Regions from separate parts of the Homo sapiens genome. Here regions 1, 2 and 4 are each linked to region 3. Evidence: promoter capture Hi-C in 16 types of primary human blood cells and fetal thymus (Javierre and others, 2016). All regions are on one chromosome and are shown on one strand. The core of a region is centred on a gene start or on the middle of the fragment in contact, and the rest is flanking DNA. Distances in the headings are between cores, read along the strand shown.

Region 1 (5,005 bases), core at 456-2,955, 500 kb after region 3:
TGGAATCCAAGAAGGGGAGGAATACTGCAAAGGGGGATAATAAGGCTTTTGGCAGGTGATGGAAACATTCATATCTTAATTGTGATGGTGACTACATAGGTGTAAATATTTGTCAAAACTCTTCAAACTGTATTCTTCTGTTGTATGGAAAGCACACCTCAGTAAAGTTGATTTTAAAAAAATCAGATGCCAGAGTTTTAAAGATCAGCAGATTGCATTTTAAAAATCCAGATTATCCAGGCTGGGCTCAGTGGCTCATGCCTGTAATCCCAGCACTTTCGGAGGCCAAGGCGGGCGGATCACAAGGTCGAGATGGAGACCATCCTGGCCAACATGGTGAAACCCCGTTTCTACTAAAAATACAAAAATTAGCTGGGCGTGGTGGCGCGCCTGTAGTCCCAGCTACTTGGGAGGCTGAGGCAGGAGAATCGCTTGAATACAGGAGGTGGAGGTTGCAGTGAGCTGACATGGCGCCACTGCACCCCAGCCTGGCGACAGAGCGAGACTCCATATATATATATAAAAAAAAATCCAGAATTCCAACTGCTCTTGAAAAACTGGAAGATTTAGCCTCACTGAGCTGACATTTCCTTTTAGCTACAATGGCTGGAGCTCACTAGCTGTCGGCTTTTTCAGATGGGTATCTGCCTTTCTATTTTGCCACAAGAAACTTCTATTCCAAACTAGCTTTATCCAGAACAAATTATATTAATCAAAAGAAACAGAAGTTCAGTTCCTTTTCTCTTCCCAAAAGATGTTATGATTGGGGTTCAAGCAAAGAGAGTAAGTGTATAAACGAGAAGCTACGAATCAGGCATAAGTAGAAAAAGAAACAAGAGGAGATGGAAAAGTAAAAGAACCAGGTGCTGTTAATGTCACATAAGTCAAGAAGGCAAGAGTTTCAGGGTAATGGGTTAAATGAGCTGAGGAGGACAAAGGGTGAGAACGAGAATAGAGTACTGAATATGGCAAGGAAACAGAATGACCTTTCATGAGAATGGTGTTAGTGTACTAGCAAGATAGAGCACAGGTCTGAGTCAGCATGTTAAGGAGGTGGACAGCTAGGAAACAAAAGGATCTGTACACACAACACATTCAAAAGTCTCAGCAAAAGGAGAGTCTGGGGTCAGAAGAGGGACGGCAAAGTCAAGGAAAAGCTTTGTTAAGGAAGGGGAACGGGGAACATTAGTGGTTGGAAGGAGAGGAGCCTGACAGCAGAAATCAGAAAGCAAGGAACTCACGATACAGGCTAGAAGAGCCAGCTTAATGAAGGGACAAACACTGCTTTCTATTAGCACCAACCATCTTCTAGTGACAACTGTACTAGGAAAGCCTGGCGTGGGTTTTTAAGGAATGTGGATATAAGAATGCAGAAGGAGAAGCAGTCTTGAGGCACCTCCTTCCAGAGCACCGCTCCTCTGGCTCTCCCCTGTGAGAGGCCTCAATGAAGTGTGGGTATTGAGAAGAGGCCTCAGTCAGGGCAAACCAAGAGTGCGCGTGGCAGTACCTGAGAGATCCCCAGTGATGGAGGAGGTGCCGAAGTAGTAGCCGCGGGGCAGGCGGACTCCGGGCACTTCAATGCAGTCCCTCCACTCATGCTTGCCATCAATATCCATCATTATCTAGAATAAAAAGAGAGATAAATCAGGGTCAGGCCATGGGAGCAAGAGCGACACAGCCCACACCACCATCTGGTCCAGGACAAGGACTCTCACCGTCAAATGCCTCTTGACGTAGCGAATCACCAGGAAGGTGTCGTAATGAAGATTGCGGACAATGGCTGTGCAGCCTCCCAGCTCTGTAGGCCGCCCATCCCGCTCATGATCATAGCTGAGGGAGCCGTTGTTCACCATGGCTGAGATGTAGGGGAATACCCGCTGGAAAGCAGAGAGGGGGAAGCAGACACTAAGGAAGAGCACATAGGAACGCCTGTACAAACAGCAACAGGAATTCAGCACATACAAGTTGAGCCCCTTACAGCAGAATAGGCAGCCACTCGACCTCATTGTCAGCAGCCCCTGAGAGCCCACATTCAGATGGTCTCTCAAGGGAAATGGGCCCAGGAAGCGACTACACTTGGTATTTGCCTTCAGTAATTCTCTTGGCTCCTGAACTGGGGTGGGCCTGAAGTGGTCCTCCTAAGACGCTGGAGTCTGACTTGAATGCCCCAAGGTCACCATTTGGCACTTATGTGCCGCCTAATACCAGGGGTTTCCTTTTCGTGTATATGTACCTATCTCCCCAACTGCCACATAAGCTTCTTGAAGAAAAAATTCATTCATCACGTCTTCATATGTCTAAACTTCAGCCCCATCTCCTCCCAACCATGGTTCTGCACACAGCGGGTATTCTGAAAATACCTGTTTGAGCAGGGGAATCTTTCCATTCAGGATAGCTCTTTTCAATTCTAAAATTCTATAAGCATATAAGGCTAAATGGATTAGAACTCAGAACATGGAACGGGGTTGCTGGATGGGCTCAGCCAGCCACAATGACTGTCCTTAGTCAAAAGACTTTCCAGCCCACTTAAGCCTCCTCCACACGTAACTTCTCCGAATAATAATAAGAGGGCAAGGTTCTCCCTTAACAGGGAGAAAATTGCAAGTTTTCCCATAAGCCACTCATTTTCCCATCTATTTCAGGGGCCCTCTCTCCCCAGTAGAGTTGTAGGAGCAATTCTTCCTTAGAAATGGCGAACTAATCATTCCAGAACAAGCCCAATGCCAAGGCAGTGCAAAAAGGCAGGGTAGTGAGGTGGTGAAGGGGTAACATGAGGCATGCCACTCCTTTGGGGAGTATTTGTCCCTTTGTCCCAAATGGTTAACATGCAAGATGGAGATGCAGTCGAGACCAGAGACCGGGGACTCCTGAGACAACCACATGGACTTGAAACAGCAACAAATGTTGGATGGACACATGGGAATGAGGGATGCTCATGATGAGCCAAGAACTGAGTACCTGGACTCCTGGAGAATATCGCCTCTTCTGGGCCTGAGAGGGTCCAGCAGGTTATGATAAAAACAAGAGAGGGCACAGAAGACAGGAGACCAAGTCAGAAAGACACAGCCACAGAAGAGCTATGACCCAGCTGTGATGGATGAACAAACCAACTTAAATCCCCAAACAGAATTTTAGGGTCCCTGAAGGGCATCCGTGAAGTCTTTGCACCCTCAAGATGATAGGCAAAACCATATGCACGGGTGCTTGTACATTTTTCTGAGGAGAGGGTCTGTTACTATATCAGATTCTCAAAGGGGTCCCCTAGGAAGACCGCTCTAACCCATAGAGGGTCCTGAAGCTTTTGGAAGGCACTTTATAAAACACATAGCAGTACGCTGTCCAGGCACGCCGCACTTATGTCTCTGGGAGTCAGTCTCAAGTTTGTCTGTACCCAGCCTACTGTATTTCTATAGCAAGGGGAAAGAGGAGACAACAGGGCTAAATTCTTCCAAATTCAAGACATCCTTTACTATCCAGGATCTCAGGAAACAGCTCCTGCCCAGAAGACCAAAATCTTGCCACTTGAGAGACTATGAAACTAACTCTAATCCAAAGGGATCACTTACCCTCTAACTGAGCCTTATGGTCATATATTCCCAAATAACTATTGTCATTCTAACCTACCACACATAGGCAAGGAAGAAGCTCCATGGAGGCATTGCAGAATGACAGATTTAGAAAATCATCAGGCGTGAGGGTATTAAGCTCTGCTCCAGCAAACAGCTGCAGTTCTAAGCCATTAGCGACAAGAGGTACCTACACAAGCTCAGCTCAGCTCTGCCCTGTGGGACAGGTAGGCGAGGGTACAGAACTCAAACCCTTCACTCCTTTAATACGGTGAACACCTACTACAAGCCAGGTACTGTTCCAGATGCTGAGGGTCCAAAGAGAAACAAGACAGACAGGAATGGAATTAAGATCAGAGTGGAAGAAACAAACAACAAAGAAGCAAATAAAATTATTTCAGATAGTGAAAAATGCTATAAGGAAAATAAAATAGGTAATACAAGGGATGGGCAAGGGAACCTCTCCCTGAGGAGGCAATATCTGAGCTGAGACTCAAGTAATTAGAGGGAGTCCACCAAAAGATCTGAGGGCACAAGAAGCATGAGGGTGGCACATTCAAGGAACTGGAAACAGATCAGTCAGAATCACAGCTTGTGAGAAGAGGCTGCCATGAGGCAAGGCAGCACCCACGGCACTGGGCTCCATGGGCCACAGCCAGGAGTCCGAGGCTGCAGTGCAGATCCCCTGCCGTCCTCCTCTTAACACCACTGGCAGAATTCATACAGGACACAGAAAGGCATGACATCAATCCGTGGATGATTAAACTGGCATGAAGTTAATCTTCAACAACTACCATTTAGAACAAGGAAATGGTGAGCATGTTATCAAGCAGTTTACAGAAACTGGCATCTGAGAGTATGCTCATAATTTCAGTGACAATTAAGAAAAAGGGATTAAAAATGCCCTGTGGAGCTCTGATGAGCCCAAGGCTTCCTTCACTCATCACCTCTAGTAACCCTGATTAGAAGTTTAAGTTGCAACTTTAAAGAGATAGCAATCTCCTATGTTAGCTTGCTTAGAAAATAAACAAATAATAAAGAGACAGCAATCCTTAGCCTAAGGGTGCCTTACTCTTCCCAAGGCTGGTGTGGACCCAGTTCCAGGTAACAGCCAGAGGCATGCTGGACCTTGGGAGCACCTGAAGGAGCTTGTTAACTGCACGTATACATGGGTCCCTCAGTCAAAGAGTCTCATTCGTATGGCTAGAGTGGGGTGCAGGATTGTTTTTTGTTTGTTTTTTTGAGATGGAGTCTCACTCTGTCACCCAGGCTGGAGTGCAGTGGCGAAATCTTGGCTCACTGCAACCTCCACCTCCTGGGTTCAAGCAATTCTCCTGCCTCAGCCTTATGAGTAGGTGGGATTACAGGCGCTCGCCACCATGCCCAGCTAATTTTTGTATTTTTAGTAGAGATGGGGTTTCACCATGTTGGTCAGGCTG
Region 2 (4,787 bases), core at 1,694-4,193, 320 kb after region 3:
AGCCTGGTGCAGTGGCTCACGCCTATAATCCCAGCACTTTGGGAGGCCAAAGTGGGTGGATCACTTGAGCCCAGGAGTTCAAGACCAGTCTGGGCAACATAGCAAGATCCCACCTCCATAAAATTTTTTAAAAGATTAGACAGGCATGGTGGTGCATGCCTATGGTCGTGGCTGCCTGGGAGGCTGAAGTGCGAGAATCACCTAAGCCTAGGAGTCCAAGGCTGCAGTGAGCTGAGATTGCACCACTGCACTTCAGACTGACCCTGTCTCAAAAAAAAAAAAAAAAAAAAAACAGAGAGATGCTCCCAGCTTTCTTCCAGGAGCGAGGTATTCCCTTCATCCCTTGGGATTAACAGTCAATGCCACCCCCTCTAAGCCACTTATTGTGATATTGACATACTTCAGTGTCAGTACTAGGGACTGCTCCAAGTCCCAGCATGGCTGGGACCACCCTGGTGCCTTCCCCCTCTTCAGACTCCCCAGCAATGTGACAACTGAGTGGGGGGTGACACTAGGTCCTCTGGTAGGTCAGGAGCTGTAATGACCCAGTCCTGCCGGGCCACCCTGTAGCATCACGCTGTGGCAGGGAGGCAGGGATTGCAGGCACCTGAGTCCTCCTCACACGCTCAGCTGACCCCGCAGGTCCCTGACCTAGGCTGTGTTTGGTGCCTGTCCTTGCATATGGCGGGCAGCAGCCAGGCTTTGTGTGCAGCACTGTGTCACAGCCGTCTCGCTGTCTGCAGGACTGTTACCGGTGACAGCAGCTATGTGCCTGGCCCTTCTGGGAGCTCAGGAGGGTCCTGCTTACAGGGCGAATTTTGTGCTGAGACAGCTGAGAGGCCAGGTGTTCTGGGCGGCCCAGGAAAACCAGCCGTCAGCATCTCCTGCCCACACCTGTCCTGAGGTCAGAATGAACTTGAGTCCAGCAGGCTCCCAGAGCCAGAGAGCTTCTGCACCTGCAAAGCCCGGCTCCCTGCTTCAGACTGAAGGTGGGGACCTGAAGAGAATGCATACAGGCACCTCAGACTGGACACAGGGGTTGCGGGGGGAGCGGAGGGGAGCCCCTGGGCCCACCCCACCCACTCCACCCTGGCAATTCAGCTTGAAACAAATGATTAGCCTCTCTGTATAGATCCATGTTTCTCTCCTGGGCATGTCGGTTCGGTAAAACCCCGTTCATTTGGGCCTCACTGTGACCTCTAGGACGCTGGCCAAAGGGCAAGCGCCGCCAGGCCAAGGGGCCTGGGAGTGAAATCGTGGGTGAGGATAGGTGACAGGGGTGTTGAATCGGCCCGAGCGGTTCTTTCTTTTCGAGTTAATTTCGCATTGGTCTCTAGGATGCAAGCTTGTCCAACGCGTGGCCCAAGGGCGGCATGTGACTGAGGAAGGTTTTGAATGCGGCCCAAATTCATAAAGCTTTCTTAGAACACTGAGGTATTTTCGCGATTTTTTCTTTTAGCTCACCGGCTGTCGGTAGTGTTAGTGTATTTTACGTATGGTCCAAGACAATTCTTCAACTTCAAAAGACGGAACGCCCCTGCAATGGGACGCCAGACACCTCTAAGAGTGGGTGTAGGCCTCCAAAAGTGTCCACATGATACTTCCAGAAAAACTTCACATGCGGAGGTGTGCAGGAATGTGCGTGCTGCTAGAAAAGAGGCCTAAGGGGTCTGCCCAACGTCCTGAGAACCCGAGAGAGCAGGGCCCGCTGGGACAGGCAGGGGAAGGCCTCGGGAGGGACACGACGGTCCGGCAGCAGAGCCTGCGGGGCTGGAGGAGGCGCCCTCCTCTCAGCTGCTCTTCCTGCCCCTTTCGGTGGCGAAGATGGATGGGGCCCGGGGCTTTCGGCGGGGCCCGAGGGGCCGGCGAGGCTGCGGCCCTGGAGCCCCCTGCCTGGCAGCCATTTGGGCCCCAGGGAAATATCGGCGCTTTGGCTAACCGAATTATTCTTTCGGTTTGAGCCAGCTCCCCTTTTTGAGTCAGATCCGGCGGCAGGGCCAGAAAAGCGCTTTCTGAAACCCCAGCGCGGTCCTCGGTGGGGGTGGAATGGGGTGGGGTGGGGGGCGCGGCCGCGCCGCTGGGCGCCCTCCCCGCCCTCCCCCCTCCCCACCCCCAGTCCTCCCTCCGCTGCCCGCCCCCCAAGCCCGGTGTCGCCCCCTCCGCCCCCTGCCGCATCCCCGGAGCCAGTGCCCACAGGGGCCAGGCAGCCCGCAGGGGTCGCTCACGGCTGGTGTAGGGGCTTGGTCCACCACGCTAGTACTTCGGGCACCAAAATAGAAAAAGAATAACGCTTGGAAAGAATCTGATGTTTCCGAAGGAGCATCGAAAATCGCCGTTACGGGAAAAGTAAAACTCTTGAGGGACTTCCTTACACTAATTTAACTGTCCCGGGTTGTTTTTATTTCTAATTGTGCTGGGGGGATGGGCATCATGATCTGTTTTCAGGGCTTAATGCCCCCTCCACGGTCCCTGGGGGACCTCTGGCCTTGGTGCCTCTCCAGGACATCCTGATGTCTCCGAGGTCCCATTTCAACTCCCTGGGGTCCCGGGCTGCCCAGCTGTTATTTTGCAGAATTTCTCTCCCACAGTGTCACCAGTAGTTCTGCTTATCGCTCCTGCCACTGAGTCACAAGGGGAGGAGGGGATTTCTGAGCTGTTTCAACACTTACCCAGAATATTAGGGGTTTCATGCAGCCCTTGTTTATTTAAAAAAAAAAAGAAAAGAAAGAAAGAAAAGAAAGCCCCAAAGCCAACAAAATATGACACACACGTACAGAAGGAGGGAAGGCAAGGGGGTGGGGGCCTTGCAGAACCAAATGGCCTATCTGCTGAGCTGGGGCTGGAGCTGGAAGTCAGGTTTCCTGTCCCCACTCCCCCAGCCTGGGCCCACCCCGTGCCTTCTGTTTCACCCAGGGCTGTGGAAACCAGCTAATGTTTATGGAGCACTTCCTCCCGCCAGCGGGCACAGTTCTAAGCCCTTTATAAGAAATAGCTCATCCAATGCCCGTAACTGCACCCGGAGGCGTGAGGGCTGTTATTGTGCCTGCCAGCCGGTTTCATAGATAGGAGACAGCACGGAGAGTTCAACTGCACTGGGGTACTTGGGTTTCCTGTGGAGAAAAATTTGCCCATCGCTTTGGCACAGAATCTGTGCCAAGACAGATTCTCAGCCAAGGCAGGCCTCAGAGTCCCCAGAGTCCAGCTACAGGATGCCCAGAACCTCCCTCCAGCTGAGACAAGCTGGCCAGGGGCTTGGGACCTCTGAGCTCCTTGGGGAGCTGAGGGGGCGCTGTCCTGGAGTCCAAGACCTGGGCTGTGTTCACTACCCCTGGCCAGGATTCAGCAGCAACACAGATAACCAGGAAAGGGGCTGTGGCCTGAGCAGCCAGCCTGCAGCCATAGGGAGGGTGTGACTCCAGCGAAACTCCAGCAAGAAGGGCCGCATGTGAGGTCAAGTCCCCAGCATCTAGAATGTGCTGCCCTTGACAACTAGGAAGCGCTAACCCCTGGGGAAGAAAGGGCAGATGTTGCCTGGTGATGGAGGGAGATGTGGGATAGGGGTGGAGGTGGGTGCATGGCCTCTTCCTCCTCCCTCTCCTCCGTGCCCTTCATTCTCCTTCTGTGGATCTTCATTGAGCACCTACTGTGCACCTGCCCTCAGTGGCCTCTCACTTCCTCCTCTTCCTTCCCAATTCCTTTACCAACTGTGAGATCTTTTGAAGCGACTGTGAGACCTTGGATAAGTCCCTTCCCACTTAGACCCTCAGTTTCCTCTTCTGGAGGAGCAGTGGCCGGGGTTCTGCGGCCCTTTCAGCAGCGTAGTGTGGGCAGATAGTAAAGACCACTCCTAGCTGGAGACGAGAGGCTCGGGAGCTGCTGGCCAGTCACACAATGGCATGGGGCTGACCACAGGAGCACGATGTGGCACATGCCCTGCTGGAGGTGTGTGTTGAGACCCCTGGGTATCTGCCTCAGGTGGGCCCTTGAAGGATGAGCAGAAGCTCACTAGGTAAATACAGTGGGAACTGCCAAGCCCGGGAAGGTTCCTCCAGGCCAGAGGGTATAGCCCATGCACACACACAGCTCCAGAAACAGCACCAGGCACTGGGGCAAAGCCCTCCCAGTGTGGCTATATTGCCGTATGTGCCAGAGAGGGGGGATGCCAACCTACCTCCATGTCCAGAGCTGTCTTTACCCAGGCCCAAGGCCCAGCCCTCTGCCTTCAGCCTCCACGCAGCCCTCTGTCTTCAGCCGTGGCCACTACCACTCAGGAAGGTCTGGAAGAGCCTGCTGAGGCCAAGGCAGAGAGAGCGAAGGCAGTTTTAACAGAGCAGAATCCCTCAGGCAGGCCCCATGGCTGAAGACACCATGGCATAGGTGGGCAGCTGGGGTGAGGGAGGGGGGCTGGACAACCCTGTGTCCTCTTCTAGGAGTCCAGGGCAGGCCAGGGTGCCCCAGATGTGGGGAAGAAAAAGCTTCAGGGGCTTCTTGTAGGCTCTCTGGTGAGTTAGTGTATACATATGTTTGTGTGATCCTATGTGTGAGCTGTGGGCTCCTGGCAGGCAAGACCCATGCATAGATGCACAGGCGTGTGTACACAGCTTTGCACACTCACATCTGGGCGTGCAGCAGCAGAAAGGATGCACAGCAGGTGCGGGGAGAATGAGAGAGCTCTTGGGGTGTAGACAGAACCACGTATACCTGGGTTCACCTTGGGTTCTCCCTGCCAGGTACTGTTTCCAACAAAGGTAGTTGGGATGTCAGGCAGGGAGGGTAGCCCTGCCTGT
Region 3 (5,312 bases), core at 122-2,621:
TTTTAAGTTGCATTTATAAAAGTTATCTTTCCTGCTAGGAAAAGTATTCCCAGTTCTTAAGATAGACTTGCATTTACCCACAATTCATAGTGTGGCACAAATAGCTGCCTGGCATCTGGGTGTTACACCTCCCACACAGGCCATGGTATAAACTTTATTGGGGTATTTCCATTTTTAACCTAACAAAAAATGTGGAATAACAGGTTGTTTCCCTGTGGAGGAAATATCAAGAATAAACAGGCGAGTGTGGAATCTGCGGAGGGAGGGGATTGTCTCTGGTTCCCGAAATCACGGCAAAGTACTTTCTGTGCAGGGAGGGCACAGTTTAAGAATATCTGTTGCAAAGAAAATACAGACACAAGGTAAACCAAAAACCAAAGCAAAGTTTCCCCATGACATTACCTGGAAACTACAGTCTCAGAACTACAGATTAACAAACGTAATCAATGGTACTGGGCTTTTCACAGTTTTGATGACGACAGCATGACTTCAGAGTCTAATGGGACACTATTCCCAAAGTTCTAGTTAACGTCGCAAAAATCTGACCTAATTCTTACAGGTTCAAATGTCTGGGCTGCTGGTTTGTGTAACCTGGACAAAATCGCTTCCAGGCTCTCAATTTTGCCACGAGTCACGATGACAGAGGGCTCTCCTGGCTTTTCTCACAGGCCTGAGTCCCATCTGGATTGAAGTCATTTTGCAAATAGCAGCCCACCACCCTTAGGCCAAATTTAAAATTTGTTTTGAATTTGCACCTTTCTGGTTGTGTTAAAGATTACAGATTACATGAACAAGGGCCTCCATGCCTTCGCTATCTAATTGATTTCTACAGTGTTGTTTCTTTACTGTCTTGCTCGCCCCACTCAAAGTCTCCCTCCTACACACCAGCCTACACACTTTCAGTTCTATTTTATAACCCGACAAATGCAAATTGACACACAGAGACAAATAACAACGCGGTTTGCTGAAGCAGGTTCAATCGACTGTATTGCCAATTAAAAGACCACCGGGTAAACAAGGGCCAACGACCACAGGGCAGGCCCCAGGGTTCACAAGCCCCCCCACCCCACGGCCCAGAAAGAGCTCGCCGCAGCGCCCACCTCTGCAACTCCTCCTCCTGGATCCTCTCCTCGTCCCAAACGAAGACGCCGGCTAACGCCGCCATCAAGGCAGAGGCATGGCCAGGACGGCCGTGCAGCCGGCGCCAGAGGCGGCCGAGGAGAACGCGGCGTGAGCTCTCGGAGTAGAGGCGGCCGTAGAGCTGCGCGATCTGCTGCGCGCGCCGCACGCGCAGGCCCGTGACGAAGCGGCACTGATTGGCCAGAAGCGCCAGCAGGCCCCCGCCCCGCGTCCCCGCCAGCCAGGCGGCCAGCAGCCTCCGCGGGAGCATGCCGCCTCCCGCAGGGCCCGCCGCGAGCTTCCGGGGCCCAAGGAACCAGTCCGGAGGGGCGCAGGCGGTGGTCGCAGCGTCCCCCTAAATGGCCGGCCACGAACCCGTCTCACGGTCCCGCGGCCAGGAGCCGCCGCTCATCTGTCTCTGCAGCCACCGCTGAGGAAGAGTCTCCTCTGAGGGGAGAGTCGGTCATGGCAGCAGACGCCGGGATGGCTCCGCGACTGCTACACCAGGCACTCCTGGGCCCGGGCAGCAGACCAGTCAGCCCTGTGGCTCCTCGGCGACCTCCAGCGGGCGCCCGGGGCCGGGATGCAGGGCGCGCGGACAGAAACGAGACAGACAGCTCAGGCCCAGCAGCACGCAAGCTCCCGCGCCTTCCGCGACTGCCACACGCGCGGCGCGCGCGCACCCTACTTTTTCTCCGCCACCTGGGCCGTGATTGGGCGCGACCTGGGCTCCTGGGTGCTCATTGGCGCCGTGAAGTGCTCGTCACCGCCCCCTCCTGCCCCTTCATGCATGCGCGGAGGCCGCCTGCTAGCAAGGTAGGTGGCTCGGCGGCGAGAGCCGTCAAGGGCGCATTGGAGAGTGACCCTCGGACCCGGCTGCCGCCGTCGCCGCCATCTTCCGGCCGTCCCAGCCCCGCCCCGCGGAGAAACCTGGCCAGGTTCCTGTTAGAATCCTGCCAGGTGTTAACTTGTTTTAAGAGGCCGGCACGCTGGCCCCCTTCTTTATTAGAGTGCAGGGTGGGGGCGGGGCTCCGCATGTCTCTGCGGGGGCTGGGGGCTCCCAGTGATAACCGCCATTGCAGAATTAAAACTGAGACAGTGAAAGAGATCTGACCTAACCAATTCCATCTTGCTTCTGTCCTTGTTCATTCCTGAGCTTAGGTGAACTAATTTTGGGAGGAACTTAGTTTATAGTTTAAAATAAAGAGGATAACAGCCCTTTCCCAAAACAAATCTTCTTATCTGGGAACTAGACTGCCTTTGTAGGACTAATAAGTTAGCCATAAGATTGGAAATTATGGTTTAGGAGTCATGCAGCTGGAGGCTACGATATTGTGATCCCCCTAAACTGCTCTTAAGATCAGTGCTTGAGATATTTTGCTGACCCCGCACTGGTTGGATCCTGGCACCACCCAGATGGATAAACTGGCTCATCTGACCTTGTGGCCCCCACCCAGGAACCAACTCAGTGCAAGAGGACAGCTTCAATTCCCTATTATTTCATCTCGACCCAACCAGTCAACACTCTGGACTCACTGGCCTTCCCCCACCCACCAAATTATCCTTAAACACTCTGATCCCGGAATGCTAAGGGAGACTGATTGAGTAATGTTGAAACAAACTCCAGTCTCATAGTGGGCTCTGCGTGAATTACTCTTTATTGCAGTTCCCCTGTCTTGATAAATCGGCTCTGTCTAGGCAGTGGGCAAGGTGAACCCATTGTACGGTTACAAATTTGGGGGTTCGTCTGGGATACCCCTTGTGGCTACCTGTCCATGGTTCGGTAGCCCCACCTCTGGTGACAGATCCAGAGGCCAGCCTAAGCGGCCACATAGTTCTCTTGGACTAGGGGCTAACTCTGGCACCGTCTCTGCCAGTGGGGCACTGCTAGCCCAATATGCATGGACTTAATCGCAATGGAGAAATAGTCCTGGGGAGACATCCCATAACTGTAGCCCTGTCACAGGGTATCTGTAGCTCCATAGCGGGGCGCTGTAGCCAGGTCATGGAGTGTCTGTAGCTATAGCCCCATCATGGGGTGGCAGGTTGCTGAGTATCCTAGGTGCTGCCAGTGCCTCCTTCCTTCTCCGGACTGATTCTGTAGCCACATGGTGGGTGTCTGTAGCTCCACCATGGGGTGTCTGTCTCAGTTTGGCTCCTGGGGCATCCCAGTTGGCTGTCCCTAACTAGGAAGAGTCTTGGTTCGGGAGACTTCTCAATCAGGAATATTTCAGGGAGATTTGTCAGATGGAGAATAGGAGGATAGTTTGGAAGGGGTACTCTTGGAGTTCTTGGTTAGGGACCTTAATTTGGAAGGCCTTCTGTCTGTCTTGTCTTCGTGTGTGTGTTTGTATATATGGAGGGGATCTCTGAAGGAATTGCTGATGAAAATCCAGCAGGCCTAACTTGGAGAACACTCCTTATTTATCTAGTCACATTCAGTGAGCCCTGAAAGAAGTTTAACAGGCCTGATTCAGGGTGACTGCTCAGAGACCACCCATTGAATTCACGATTCAATGACCCACCGTGCCTGGCCTTAAAAGGATTTTTTCTTAGAAAAAAGAGCTCTAGGCCGGGCATGGTGGCTCACACTTTTAATCCCAGCACTTTGGGAGGCCAAGGCGGGCGGATCACGAGGTCAGAAGATCCAGACCATCCTGGCTAACACGGTGAAACCTCGTCTCTACTAAAAATACAAAAAATTAGCCGGGCGTGGTAGTGGGCACCTGTAATCCTAGCTACTCGGGAGGCTGAGGCAGGAGAATGGCGTGAACCCGGGAGGTGGAGCTTGCAGCAGTGAGCCGAGATCGCGCCACTACACTCCACCCTGGGCGACAGAGCGAGACTCCGTCTCAAAAAAAAAAAAAACAAAGTTGACTTATAGAGCCAATAAGCCAAAAAATTGACTTATAGAGCCCCTTGGGAAATCTGGCCTCATACTATGTCAACACAGTCCCTGTACGAGGTTCCTGACCTGTGGTAAGTAAAGAATGTCACTTTCTAACAGGCTCAGGAGACCTAAGTTATCTTGACACCTCAAGAGGAGAGGAATTTACCCAACTCATAGGTATTCGAGGGTACAAACCCATGGCTGGGCTTGGCTTTAAAAAGGTCTTATCTAAGATTTCTTATGGAACAGAGTTCCATCAAAGCCAATTTTAAAAGCCTATGTGAAGGCCAGGCGCAGTGGCTCACACCTGTTATCCCAGCACTTTGGGAGGCCAAGGCAGGCAGATCACAATGTTAGGAGTTTGAGACTAGCCTGGCCAACATGGTGAAACCCTGTCTCTACTGAAAATACAAAAAGTTAGCTGGGCGTGGTGGCAGATACCTGTAATCCCAGATACTTGGAAGACTGAGGCAGGAGAATCGCCTGAGCCTGGGAGGCGGAGGTTGCAGTAAGCCACGATCGCACCACCGCACTCTAGCCTGGGCCACGAAGCAAGACTTCATCTCAAAAAAAAAAACAAAGCCTATGTGAAAAATAATTATTCTTGCTTCACTTTATGCAAATCATCAGGCCAAGTACAATAAGACTGCGGTTTATTTTGTAAACAAATCAGTTCTATCATGATTTGTTTTTAGTAAAAATGGGAACTGGAGAGAGAAAAATTATGCTTCAGAAGAAAAACTGTGGTACACCTTTTGTTAACTGTTCTTAAGTTTTTTTCTGCAGTTTGAACTAAATCCTAAATTCTTTGTGGGCTACAAGTTCCCAGGCTAATGCTTTTAAATCTTTACTTTTAAAACTGGGAACTGCACTCCTTACCCTAGTACTCATTATTTCCCTTATAGTACACGGTTCCCTTAAACACAGTACGAAAACTATAGGTGGCAATACTAATGCCTTTGCCATGCAAGCCTTCGAACCCCAGTCAGGCCTGCAGGAGTACACTCAGACAGTTGCAAAGTGGTTCCACTCCTCTCACCTTGGAGTCAACACCTACCCCTCACTACACCCCTGGTTAGTAGGAAGAAGTTAAGGTCTTTGCCCTTTTTCCATCTTCATTAACAACACCTTAAGATAAAGGTGTTATAAACCCAAAGGGAGGGATTAAAACCACCATTGCAAAATTATAACTGAGACAGAGAGATCTGACCTAACCAACTCCATCTTGCTTCTAACCTCCAAGTTGTCCTTATTCATTCCTGGGCATAGGCTGAACTAACTTTGGGAGGGACGTAATTTATAG
Region 4 (5,134 bases), core at 1,115-3,614, 360 kb after region 3:
ACATGAGCAGAGAGGACGAAGCAAGAAGGCATCTGTCTGCAAGCCTAGAAGACAAGCTTCCTCCAAAACCAACCCTGCCAGCATCTTGAACTTACACTTCCGACTTCTAAAACTATGAGAAAATAAGTGACTGCTGTTTCAGCCACCCAGTCTACGGTGTTCTGTTTGGCAGCCCGAGCTGACTAATGCAAGATCTAAGGGATATCTGCTGGGAGGGACTTCCACATTCCGGGGAGCTTTATCCCATGGAGAATCACTCCCCAACGGGTGCACGGGTGCATCCTCATCAAGGAGCCTCCAACACTCACCCCACTGAATTTCAAAGCTGCCAGGGACCAGTGGCTCTTAGGTGCCTCCCGCGTTCCCCTTTTTGAATAGGAATGTCCACTGCAGTTATCCTATGCCGGTCCCACCACTGTGGTTGAACATGTCAGGGATAGATAAAAATTCCTTTTAGTTCACAAGTCTTTGGATATAGAACTACTATACTTGAGAAATTATGCCCAAGAAGCCTCATCCACATCTGGTGACATCTTCAGGTAAATGATGACATCCTGGATTTTAAGCCAATGCTGGAAAGGGTAAGGCTTCTGGGGAATCTTTAAACAGGGTGAGTATATTCTGTATATGGGACTGTAGGCAGAATAACAGCCTCCTAAAGATGTCCACATCCTAATCCCCAGGACCTATGACTATATTAGGGGGCATGGCAAAGGGGAATTCCGGTTGCAGATGAAATTATGGTTGCTGGATATGAATAGACTATCCTGGATTGTCAAGAAAATACTGGGTGGGCCCAATGTCACATGAGCGTCCTTAAGAGTGGAAGAACAAGGTGGGAGAAAGAGACTCAAAAGGCAGCAGAGGAAGGACTTGGCCCAGCATTGCTGGCTTTGAAGACAGAAGAAGGAGCCACAAGCCAAGGAATGTGGGTGCCTCTTAGAAGCTGTAAGTCAAGCAGACAGATTCTCCCCTAGACCCTCCAGCAGGAACACAGTCCTACTGACACCTGATTCTAGCGCTGTGAGACCCATACTGGACTTCGGACCTCCAGAACTGCAATATAATAAATTCGTGTTGTTTTAGGTCACTAGGCTTGTGGTAATTTATTAGAGCAGAAATAGAAGACTAATACAGTGAGGGGTGTAAATAATCTGTGGCCAGCAGGCAGACTGTGGTAGCGGAAAATATGCCCACAAAATCTTGTACTCCTTTCAGAAAGTGGAGCCTAATTCCCTTCCTCTTGAGTGTGGGCTGGAATTAGTGACTCATCTAACTAATGAACTGATAAAATAAGGCAGAAGTGATGGTGTGTGACTTCTGATACCAGATCACAAAAGGAGCAGCTTAATGGAAGTCTGGGACAGCTCCCCATGCCATCGTGGGCTCAGAAATGGACGTACTAACTTAGGGACACCCATGTCAAACAAAGACCACACCAACAGCTTATGAAAACCAATGAGTGATTTGGAAATGATCAGAGGGATCTGATGAATGGTTTGTTTTACAACTTACATCACTTGGCAAGCAGTTTTATAAGAAATAGTTGTCCCTCAGTATACATGGGGAATTGGTTCCAGGACTCTCCCCCCATACCAAAATCCGTGCATGGCCAAGTCCAGAAGTTTGCCCTGCAGATCCCTCCTATATAAAAATTCTGCCCTCTGACGAGGCGAGTTTTTGCATCTTGAGAATACTGCATCTTCCACCTGTATTTGTTTGCAGATAGGGAATCAGTAAATACCAAGAGCCGACTACATCTTTTGAAAAAAATCAAAATATAAGCGGACCCAAGCGCTTCAAACCCATGTTGTTCAAGGGTCAACTGTGTTTATATTATTTAGAGAATAAAAAATATATATTTTATATTTAGATTATTGTAGTTATTACATATTTGACCATCACTCCTATGTAAATATTTCTTCCTTTCCAAACCCCTTGTTTCATCCCCTTCCTTTCCTTTTAAGCACTGGTCTCTGTGCACAGAATGCCAGGGATAGACTAACACAAACTGTCGTGAGAAACAGAAAGAAAAGCTGGCTGCTTCTCAGCACTTGTCAGTGGGACAACACAGGGCCATCCTTTGCCCTTTTTGGGAAGAAGGGAGGTCCTGAGAGTAGCCTTCTATGCAAATTGAGAACTTTGAGAAGTGGGTTGGTGGAATGATGTCCCTGTCCCTCTGAAGCAGGGTCCAGTCTCAGTGCCACAGTGCCCACCATGGAAACATGGCCCCAGGCCCATGACACTAGGACATGTCTCCTGCCTGGTTCCCTGGAGGGCGAGGCTGGGCCGTGACCGCCAGCTGTAGCATTCAAGTCTGGAAGCCTGGACCAACAATAGGTTTTGTGCCTGGTTTTGTGTGAATTTGCATCAACCTTGTTGCAGACTCCTTGACGCCTTCCCCTTCAAACACAGATGCCTGAGCCTTGGCCAGCTGATCAAATGCTTCTTTTGATCACTGACATCTTTGTGGCTGCAGTAGCCAGCCCATGGCCATCTCCAGAGTGGTCCAGTACTACCCGACCCCTGCCAGGGAGGGGCACCATCTAACTGGACTAATGGCGCTCAGTCAGGGTCATCGCTGTGCTCCGGGGAGACCCTGCATATCCCAGAGGATCCTAAATGTTTTCTGGAGTTGGAGAGAATTCCGAGAATCCTCCTCATAAATCCTTCTTTGGATATAAGCTAGCCAGATGTCGTTTCTGCCATTTGCCACTCCAACACCATCAGCCAGATATCCAGGTGTCCCAGATGGTGAACATTCAAGAGCCCCAGCCATGGGTCCAGGCAGCAGAGGCACGTCTATGGAGATAGGCTGGGCCTTGTCCCCTGCCAAGTCAGTGATGAGTGGGAGGACTCACTGGCCCTTGCACTGAGCAAGGCCACCTGACAGGCCAGCCTAATCACCCCCCTGTGGCCAATATAAGGATATTGATCTTTAGTGGCCAGAATCTCTCCTCCATCACTTTTTATGTATTTTGTTGTTGGTGGTGGTGGTGGGGTGTGTGTGTGTGTGTGTGTGATTTTCTGCCGAGTCCTTCATCTTGGATCCTCCACCACTTTTGCCAAGGAACACCTTCCAGCTCACAGGTAAGGGAAGAACTCTTTCCAGACAATAAGTCAGGAACCTCTGACTTGTGATGAGGAGAGGAGGGCTTGCCACATAGTGTAGAATTTAAGTCACTCCAGAATTTTCAGGACGATGGCTTTGGATCCAGCTACACTCAAGAACTAGGACCAAGAAGCAGATCTGATTGGTATTCCCTAGGGAAAACCTAGCCGTCATTTGCATGCAAACAATGCCTGGCATGTACGAGGCAGCCCTTTCAGGCTTCTCTGCCCCGTTGTTGGGCCCTGTCAAACCTGTGCTTGTATAGAAAGCAATGGGATGCTAAATCAGATAGAGTGGGATTAGAATTTGCATGAGAGAAAGGGAAAGGGAGGGGCAGGAACGAGGGAGAGAGCTGAAATCTGTCCTCCCTAGGAGAGTGGCTTCCATTGACAGGCAGGGAGAATGAGGGAAGGTCATCAGAAACACCAGATGCAAGTCTGTCACTGATGGCTACCCAATATCCTTGAGGGCATCTGGACCGCCCCCATTTTGGTCCTTTCCTATATTTTGAGTACCATCTTCCCAAGGGACAAGCTATAAAAACCTGCATTCCCAAACTCCCTTGCTGCCATTGAGCAGGCATGTGACTGAGATACCAACCAATCAGACATGCACACAGACTGGCAAAGGAGACACTGGAGGAAGTAGCCAAATGGATTTAATGGCCCAGAGGTCATGTCCTGATGGGTGAATGACAGCACAGCATCTAGTTTTCTATTCTTCTCTGCTTGTCTATTTGAACTCAAATTAATTCAGAATTTGTACCCTCTGGGAAAAGAAAAACTCACTGATATGAAATGTTTGAAAACTGTGAGTTTTCTTTGTTTATGCTTTTATTTATTTATTTATTTATTTATTTATTTATTGAGATGGAGTCTCACTATGTCGCCAAGCAGGAGTGCAGTGATGCAATCTTGGCTCAATGCGACTTCCACCTCCCAGGTTCAAGCAGTTTTCCTGCCTCAGCCTCCCAAGTAGCTGGGACTACAGGTGTGCACCACCATGCCCAGCTAATTTTTTAATATTTTCAGTAGAGACAGGGTTTCACCATGTTGGCCAGGATGGTCTCTATCTCTTGACCTTGTGATCTGCCCGCCTCGGCCTCCCAAAGTGCTGGGATTACAGGTGTGAGCCACCGCGCCCGGCCAAAGATGTGTTTTATCAGAATACTTTCCTATGCTTTATGTTGACTTTACCATGTCCTTAAGTAAGAAGAGAAAGTCTTACCACTTTTATAAAGAGCTAAGGTTCTTTACAATCATGTTACCTCCCATGTTTACTTTTAAAATATTTTCATTGTCACTTTAGCTAAATGGGGTAGCTAAGTATTGTTTCTCAGTAATCTATGACCCTAACTTAAGTATTCAAACCTCCTGACAGCTTTTGATATTCTACCTTTCCCAAATCAAATCCTAAATGGTATCTTTCACACCTACAACTGTCTTTGAGATTTCCCAGAGGGTCCCTGGAAAATCACTTAGGATTTGTTCTTTCACCTTGTAAAAGGAGAGGTACTAGAAGTAATTCAGCTTATCAGATATGTTATTAATAAATTGCATGGGAAGCTTTTGAGGTAGGAGGCAGGATTAGACTCTGGGGGTGGAGACTTGGACAAGAACGAGATTGAAGACTAGCTAAAACAGGGCCAGCGCAGAAGCAGCTTTCCATAAGACTGGCACACCCAAAGGTTACTGCCCCTTTCTGTGGCAACCACCCAACGACCCAGAAGTTACCACTCTTTTCTAGAAATGTCTGCATAACCCACCCCTTAATTTGCATATAATTAAAAGTGGGTATAAATACGACTGTAGAACTGCCTCTAAGCTGCTACTCTGTGCACACTGCCTATGGGGTAGCCCTGCTTTCTAAGGTGCAGCACTTCTGCTGCCGCTGTGCACTGCCGCCTCTATAAAAGTTGCTGTCTCACCCCACCGGCTCACCCTTGAATTCTTTCCTAGACAAAGCCAACAACCCTCCTGGGCTAAGCCCCAATTTGGTGGGGGTGGGAGGGGGCTCGCTTGC

What was found. Contacts are between HindIII fragments. The CHiCAGO score rates a contact against its expected background, and 5 or more counts as called.
Region 1: a fragment that was not itself captured here is called in contact with the fragment with the promoter of STARD7-AS1 in region 3 in 1 of 17 cell types (naive CD8 T cells); the score reaches 7.0 in naive CD8 T cells.
Region 2: a fragment that was not itself captured here is called in contact with the fragment with the promoter of STARD7-AS1 in region 3 in 2 of 17 cell types (total CD8 T cells and activated CD4 T cells); the score reaches 6.1 in total CD8 T cells.
Region 4: a fragment that was not itself captured here is called in contact with the fragment with the promoter of STARD7-AS1 in region 3 in 3 of 17 cell types (naive CD8 T cells, naive CD4 T cells and total CD8 T cells); the score reaches 6.7 in naive CD8 T cells.

The regions. Positions count from the first base shown.
Region 1 is chr2:96,710,149-96,715,153 of GRCh38, forward strand. It overlaps LMAN2L (lectin, mannose binding 2 like), which reads right to left. Exons shown (of 8, transcript NM_030805.4): 5 at 1,716-1,877; 6 at 1,508-1,622. Among named protein-coding and RNA genes, the nearest start is that of LMAN2L, 27 kb to the right of the region's middle. The HindIII fragment of the contact is 1,100 bases long and covers 1,156-2,255 here.
Region 2 is chr2:96,525,563-96,530,349 of GRCh38, forward strand. It overlaps LOC105373496 (a long non-coding RNA gene), which reads right to left. Exons shown (of 3, transcript NR_135564.1): 2 at 4,172-4,287; 3 at 2,378-2,621. Among named protein-coding and RNA genes, the nearest start is that of ARID5A, 8.8 kb to the right of the region's middle. RefSeq lists silencers at 1,638-1,977, 2,128-2,227 and an enhancer at 3,088-3,237. The HindIII fragment of the contact is 3,059 bases long and covers 1,415-4,473 here.
Region 3 is chr2:96,207,045-96,212,356 of GRCh38, forward strand. STARD7-AS1 (STARD7 antisense RNA 1) reads left to right here and starts at 1,372. Exons shown (of 4, transcript NR_046322.1): 1 at 1,372-1,935. It overlaps STARD7 (StAR related lipid transfer domain containing 7), which reads right to left and starts at 1,783. Exons shown (of 8, transcript NM_020151.4): 1 at 1,101-1,783. The coding sequence starts at 1,390. RefSeq lists silencers at 1,200-1,459, 1,810-2,029 and an enhancer at 1,477-2,067. The HindIII fragment of the contact is 17,331 bases long and covers 1-5,312 here.
Region 4 is chr2:96,561,942-96,567,075 of GRCh38, forward strand. No RefSeq gene overlaps it. Among named protein-coding and RNA genes, the nearest start is that of ARID5A, 28 kb to the left of the region's middle. RefSeq lists enhancers at 2,367-2,867, 2,938-3,438. The HindIII fragment of the contact is 4,621 bases long and covers 55-4,675 here.